2 separate regions of the Homo sapiens genome follow, and region 2 is linked to region 1. Evidence: promoter capture Hi-C in 16 types of primary human blood cells and fetal thymus (Javierre and others, 2016). All regions are on one chromosome and are shown on one strand. Each heading gives the region's core, a stretch centred on a gene start or on the middle of the fragment in contact. The rest is flanking DNA. Distances are from core to core; before and after follow the strand shown. Region 1 holds the start of THUMPD2 (THUMP domain 2 tRNA and snRNA guanosine methyltransferase). Region 2 has its middle 110 kb from the start of SLC8A1.

The links. Contacts are between HindIII fragments. The CHiCAGO score rates a contact against its expected background, and 5 or more counts as called.
Region 2: a fragment that was not itself captured here is called in contact with the fragment with the promoter of THUMPD2 in region 1 in 1 of 17 cell types (neutrophils); the score reaches 7.0 in neutrophils.

Annotation. Positions count from the first base shown.
Region 1 is chr2:39,777,463-39,781,152 of GRCh38, forward strand. It overlaps THUMPD2 (THUMP domain 2 tRNA and snRNA guanosine methyltransferase), which reads right to left and starts at 1,796. Exons shown (of 10, transcript NM_025264.5): 1 at 1,652-1,796. The coding sequence starts at 1,777. The HindIII fragment of the contact is 5,327 bases long and covers 1-3,690 here.
Region 2 is chr2:40,563,075-40,566,764 of GRCh38, forward strand. No RefSeq gene overlaps it. Among named protein-coding and RNA genes, the nearest start is that of SLC8A1, 110 kb to the left of the region's middle. The HindIII fragment of the contact is 5,514 bases long and covers 1-3,690 here.

The sequences.
Region 1 (3,690 bases), core at 546-3,045:
TTTCTCTTTTTTTGGTAAAATATGGAGGTAAAAGTCTATCAGATAGGAGTCTTTTGAGGATTAAATCATAACATGCACATAACTTGTCTAACATTTTAAGTGTTTAATAAATGTTAGTTGTCATCACTGTTATTTCAGGATTGCCTTAACTTTGAGAGTTCACTTTGTATCAGAGCAACTTGGGTGGAATTTCAGAGATTATTTGTTCAGATCCCATTTCCAGACCTATCTATCTTTCAAACATACAAGAGCAGAATATGGAAATTCCCAAATCTACTGGCATTTAATTACTCCCACTGTCAAAAAGTTTTCCCTGTATTTAATTGAATTTTCTTCCTGGTAATAAAGTTTTCCCCATTTCATTTGTCTTTAGAGAAGATGGAGAACAAGCAGAGAGTCTTTCCTTTTTCTAATAATCCTACATATTAATTGGGCCAAGCTCTCTCTCTCTTTCATACCAAGCACTCTAAGTTAGCATTTAAAAAAACAAGCCAGCGCACCCCTATGTCATGGTCATATAGTGGGCCTGGTTTGAACATGATTATATACTCATTCTTGATTTCCCAGCTCGGGTTTGAATCCCATCTTTGCGATTTTCTAGTTGCATGACTTGAATAAATTCTCGGACTTACCTGTGCTTCATTTTTCTCATCTGTTAAATGTGGAACACCTACCTTATAGGGCTGTTGTGAAAAGTACGCAAATAAATATAGGGTAAAGATCTAAGAACATGTGCCTGACACATATTAAATGTTCAATAAATGTCAGTAGTTATTATATATTGATGCTTTTTAAGATTAGCTACATTCAATACTCTATTAAATTCTGTGACCCAAAACACAAGTGGCAGGTAGTCTAACAAAACTGACATAATTCTTCACGACTCCAACCTTTCACTGCAGAAACTCCTTTTGTGGGCTTCCCACACTGTAGGAGCTGCCAGGGTGGAGGGGTTAATTTCATTTAGGAAGCTCTCCTTTTCCAAGAGTACATCACTCACAGTGTCCCATACACCCCATCAAGATACCTTTTCTATTATACCTTCATCCCCTACTTTCAAGAAACCAGTTTTCAACATTCTAAAACCTAAACCGATGCTTAAAACCTTGTTCATTTCACAGAAATCAATAACAGATAACTATGAGGCCTGCAAGAGTATATTATTTTTCTGGCTGCTATTTACTGCGTGTTTAAAGTGTACTTTGCATACGCTATATAATTTAATTCTCACAACAATCCTATGTAGTCAAATACAATCACTGTCAAGAAACTAACAAAAAGTCAGGTAACTGAACTTGGAGATTATGTTTGCATTTAAAGAGCGAAGGGTTCTAACTCTGACAGGCCAGATTCTAATTACAGGCACTACTTACTACTTTAAAGAATCCAGGAAATAACTTGCCTCAACACCTCTCTTAAAAACTTGAGCCCTGAGAAGTGAGGAACTGGATTTGCTATACAAGGAAAGAAAGGAATGGTGGCTTCTCTCGGCCGGAGCGGAAGCGCCTGCCAGTCAACCTCGGGGGTCGGCGACCGTCGCGTGGAACAGAGAGGGGCGCCAGCGACGCTTTCCCGCGTCCACGACTGGGGTGGGCAACAGGGCAGGGACAGGGCCGCCCACCTCCCCAGGCGCGCAGCGAGGCCAACTCACCTGCGTGGCCGCCAGCCGCGCCCGCACCTCTCGCATTACGAACGGCTCCAGGCCGCGACCCGCAGTGCAGAAGAATCGGGCGCCAGCCTCAGGCCCGGACCCTGGCTCTCCACGCGCCTCCGACATGGCGGCTCAGGCGCGCCCTCGCGCCTTCGGGTCACGTGGCCTCGGGCGCGAGCGGCTCGCTCCTGGAGGCGGCGCGCAGGGGCGTGTGATGCCAAAGGGGAGAGGGAGAGGGAGAGGGAGAGGGGGAGGGGGAGAGGGAGGGGGAAGGAGAGGGTGAGAGAGACGGAGAGCCTGGGAGGGTCGCATCAGCCCTCTGTGGCCCCTATGGGTCTTCCTGGTTGACCATCTGTCCCCTCCTTGATTAGGCACCAGAATGGGTTAGAATCACAGGTGGAAGGGTTAGAATTGATAATTCAGTCCAGTTGCCTTATTTTGTAGATTGAGGAAATTAATGCCCAGAGAGGTCAAGAGACAGCGAGTTAGCAGCACAGCTGAGGCTGGAGCCTAGATTTCTCCCTATCTAACATAATGCCTTTTCCTCCATTCCTCCCAACTCCGTCCTCTTCCTGTCCTTCATTCCTCTCCTCTACTCTTCTCATAGAAGGAGCCCTGGTCTGTTTTCACAAAGAATCGGGCCAAACGTTGGAATCTCCAGGACGGAGAGCAGAAGTTCCTGTTCTCTAACAAACGTCTGCGTTCTGAAACAGCTCATATTTCTTGCACTACTTAGTTAACCATCCAGCCATAGATGAATCAATGTGCCATCTAGTTTTGGGCACCTGATTTGAATGGTTCTCCTAACGGTATTTGAAGGCATTTTTCTAAACTCTGAATTTTAAAATGGAAATGAAAATATTACTTGGGAAGCATAGACAGAATCCATGTTACAAGATAAACAGCGTGAAATTAGCTCTGTAGCTGTATATTGAGTCAGTTATACAGAAATGATAAATGCATGTGTGTCTCTGACAAGGGGCTGTCCTGTGCTTCAGAATGGGATGTTAAGGTGAAGAACTGATACTCCCTCACCTCCCCCGACACTCCCACACACACCCCCGCCCCCACCCAGCTCATGCTCTACTGGGCCGTACAGTAAAAATTCTTCATGGAGTCACATAACATGAGCTTTTCCAAGGTTCAGTCCTAAGACTCTTCTGATGCTGCTTTTTATTTTTTATTTTTTGCGACAGGGTCTCCCTCTGTCGCCCAGGCTGGAGCGCAGTGACGTGATCTTGGCTCACTGCAGCCTCCACCTCCTGAGCTCCAGTAATCCTCCCACCTCAGCCTGTCCAGTAGCTGGGACCACAGGCAAGCCCCACCACACCGGGCTAATTTTTGTATTTTTTGTAGAGAAGGGGTTTCACCATGTTGGCCAGGCTGGTCTCGAACTCCTGAGATCAAGCGATCCGCCTGCCTCGGCCTCCCAAAGTGCTGGGATTACAGGCACCCAGCCCTCACACACTACCGTTTTGATGAATTCTTTTCTTGCCCTCAGACACATGTTTTCCTTTTCTGGGCTACTGCCGTAGTTCATTTTAACTTCTCTATACTTTGGGGTTCTGACTGTCAAGTCTGTCTGGGGAGGACAGGAACCCTCTTTAGTTCTCTCTACATTCTGTGCCCAAGATGTTAAGTATGCAGATAGGATGCATTCCATTCAGTTCAACAAATACTGAACACCTATTCTCCGCCAGTCACCACCCTGTCTTGAGGATTCAAAGATGGGTAAGCAAGGGTTTGGACTTCAAGGGCTTAGAGGATGGTGAAGTTGAATGACTCACTGAGGACATACCCGGGAAGCTATGACAGCACCGACAAAAAGGAGGCAGGGAGGGCTTCCTGGACAAAATCGCTCTTGAGTCCAGCATGAAGGATGTGTAAGAGGGAGAAGCAGCAGATGAAAATGAGACGGCGTGTGGGGGGTGGGGAACAGGAAAGCCACGATAGCGGTTAAGTGTTATTAGAGCATAAAGTATATGAGTGGAGTAGATAGAGATGCGGTAGAGCGGTGGGTAGGGGCCCAGTTATGTCAG
Region 2 (3,690 bases), core at 499-2,998, 790 kb after region 1:
TTCAAGACAAAACAGATAGCTACCTCATGAGCTTTGTCAGCTATTTTTAAAGGTAGCATCCTTCTTTTCTTTCTTCCAGTTTCCTGTTTATATTCTGACCTGAGAGTCTGATAGAGAATGTATTTTGGGATTTTTCTCTCTGCCTTTAATCTTTATTACAAAGCACTGTCCCAGTGATGTTTGTGATGCCCGTAAAACTCTTAGCCAAACCAAGGACAAAGAATCTGACTCAGATAATGAAAAATAGACCTGTCTATCTGAATGTGACAAAGTATTCCATTTTTGGTGGTCTTTGAACCTATTGGGAAACCCATATTATAATTTATTTCCAAAAGATTGGAAGTTCAAGAGTTCTAAAGTCAGACTACCTTCGCTCAATGTCAGATTTACCCTATTTTATTCTAACACCGGAATGATAAAAATACATTATGAACATTGTATGAGACAGCATATTCTTCATGTGGTGAGATGCACATATTGAGTACTCAATAACTTTCAGGAATTACTAACTCTCAGAAATTTATTTTTGTTTACTTTTATATAGTTATTTTGCTTTGTATATAAATGCAGCTACAGTTCATGATGATTATATAATTATTGATGACCATATTCAGTTTTGATTTATAAATTATTTTTTAATTTTTTTTATTAAACTTTAAGTTCTAGGGTACATGTGCACAATGTGCAGGTTTGTTACGTACGCATATATGTGCCATGTTGGTGTGCTGCATCCATTAACTCGTCATTTACATGAGGTATATCTCCTAATGCTATCCCTCCCCCGCTAGGGACATGGATGAAGCTGGAAACCATCACTCTCAGCAAACTATCGCAAGGACAAAAAACCAAACACCGCATGTTCTCACTCATAGGTGGGAACTGAACAATGAGAACACTTGGACACAGAAAGGGGAATATAAATTATTTTTAAGTAGATGTTTTAGTTTCTGCAGTATCATAACTTCTCAATACCACTTTATGTTGATGTAATGTTCATAGACTAGGTGTTGATATTCATGCAGATTAACCAGAGGATATAGAGGAATACTATTTGATTCCATTTAGGAAGCATTCATTGAAAACTATGTACTACGTTAAGTATATATGTCATGGTCCCTGACTTCAAGGGGCTTGTAGGTAAGTAAACAGACACACATGTACATAATAATTACAGTATAGTGCACAAGTTCACAGTAAGTGTAGACATAAGGCTAGGATTAGCACAATTAACTGTCTTAGGGAACGGAGATGACTTTGCAAAGGAAGCGACATATGAACTATGCTTTTTAGCTATTCATCTATTGCATGTCATGGTCATCAATTTGTGCAATAGGGTATAATGGGGTGAAAGTTAAAGAGGAAGAACAATTGTAAAACATGATTCAGAACACTATTTGCAAAGTACTGAAGCATAAATACCTTGTCAAGGCAATAAGCAGAATATGACTTCAAGTTGAGGAGCAAAACATACACCAGTGCTGTCCAATAGAAATAAAATGCTATCCACATATGAAACTTTAAATTTCCTAGTAGCTTTGTTTAAAAAAAGCAAAAAAAAATTAAATTAATTTTTATATTTTATTTAACTCAATGTATCTAAACTATTACCATTTCAACATGTAATTCATGTAAATAATATTTACAAGAATTTGTATCTTCTTTTTTCATATTAAGTTTCAAAAATTCAGTATGTATACTACATTTACAGCACATCTCAATTTTAAGTGCTCAGTAGCTACATAAGGTTAGTGGTCACTGTGTTAGACAGTACAGGGCAGATTCAGACCATGAAGAGCTTGAACATTCTATTAAGGAATTTAGACTATATCCTATCAAGTTTTGATAATATGTAAAGCGTATTCATCTGATGCATGTCAGCATTATATTTTCTCTTTAAGGCATTGAGGATGTTGATGGGTAGTAGAAATATTTAACCAAGAGACATAGGAATATTTGTATTCTGATGTTGAACAATCACCTCTCCTAAGGAGGTCTTTAAGGAAGAAAAGGAAGACAAAGTCATCCTTAATGACTAGATGGGATTTTTTACCCAATTCCCCTGGAGCATTCCAAGGAGCTACATTGGACCCCATGGAGAATGCCATTACCGAAGCCAAATCATTCTGAATGGTCTAGAAGCAAAGCAGCCTCAAGGGCCGGTTTAGATTTCCTTCCAAAGCTCAAACTTGGATCCCATTACTCTACAATGAGAAGAGGGATGAGAGCATAAAATAACAAGAGAAACTGAAGGAAAGATTGATGTCTAAGAGGGTTGGTATTGGGGAGGGGGAGTGGGCAATTTTATTGTTAGGTTCCTAGGCTTTTGGTAGAAAACTTCTTAAATAAAAAATATTAATATCTTAAGTGAAAAAGATACCAGAGACCCTCCAATATCTTACCACTTAACCCCTATGACTCAGGACACTCAACTTTTTGTTCCTACTGTTTTAAAGAACTACACCTTATATTTGTTAGCTTGGTACCTGGAACAGTGGCTTCAAGCACAGGCAATAATGACCACCAACTCTTGTAAAATCAGAATACTGCCTTCTCTCACATAGATGGAATGATCTGACCCATTCTTGGGAATAAGTAATGAGACCCACATAAAAGATGTTTAAACTTCAACCTAGAGGACAGTGTAAGTTTCCAGATACTTTTCTAAATTTTCAAAGAACTGGAGAGTATTTATTGGTTTCCATGGATGAGAGAAGCATTTTTTAAAAATTTTGCTTTACAAATTATGTAAATTTTTACAAATTGTACAAATTCTCTTTTGCACGTGGTAGTTCTAGTTCATGCCCTCCCTACCCCTGGCATCCTGTTTAATTTTGTATTTATCACATTTTAAAAAGCTAAAACTACATTGTTAGTACTGGTTACATTAAAATAAATCAGAATGGATTTATTCTTGCATTTTGTACTCCTAGCTTCTGTCATGGTCTTATCTACTAGCATGTTTGAGGTGCATATACAGTGAATAGAGTTCAAACTCTATAGGACTCTATAGAATATAATTCATTAAATCTTAAAGAAAATGAATGATGAACCCAACTTTCCTCTCCCACTCCTTCCCAGAATCGAACAAACATCTCTTTTTTAGGTATTAGTCAGCAGGTACTTGCTGATGAAACAGTGTGTATTGACAGGGAAAGCTAGGGAGTACTATATCTTTCTGGTTTTAGTTTGTATTGGAAAAAGTGGGCAATTCTGCTGCTTCTGCCAGGCACTTGGTGCTAGAGCCAGTTGTGCCATGGCCTACGTTGCTGGTTTCAAAAGCGTGAAGCCTCCAGACAGCCAGTTAGTAAGTCAGTGGAAAATGTGGGAGATTCTAGATTACTTACATCTGAAATATGTATAGGAAATAGAGGCTAGGTAGTTCTGCCATACGGTTTATAGAGAAAAGTCTGAAATCTCTTATTATAACAGTTTTCTGCTATAAATCTACATTTACTTGTCTTTTTGTAAGATACCTTTTAAGCAGCAATGAGTTCAAAAAGGAAAGTGCATGTACAATAAAAAATAAATACTGCATTTCAATTTCTCAAGAAAATTGATAATGATTGTAAATTGAATAAACTCTTTGTCAACATTTATCATTTTTCTTGGGGGTTGTGGTAATGTCATCATAAACGTTAAATAGAAGACAAAAAGCTGTTTAAGAAGCATTTGCATCTATTTCAAAAGCTA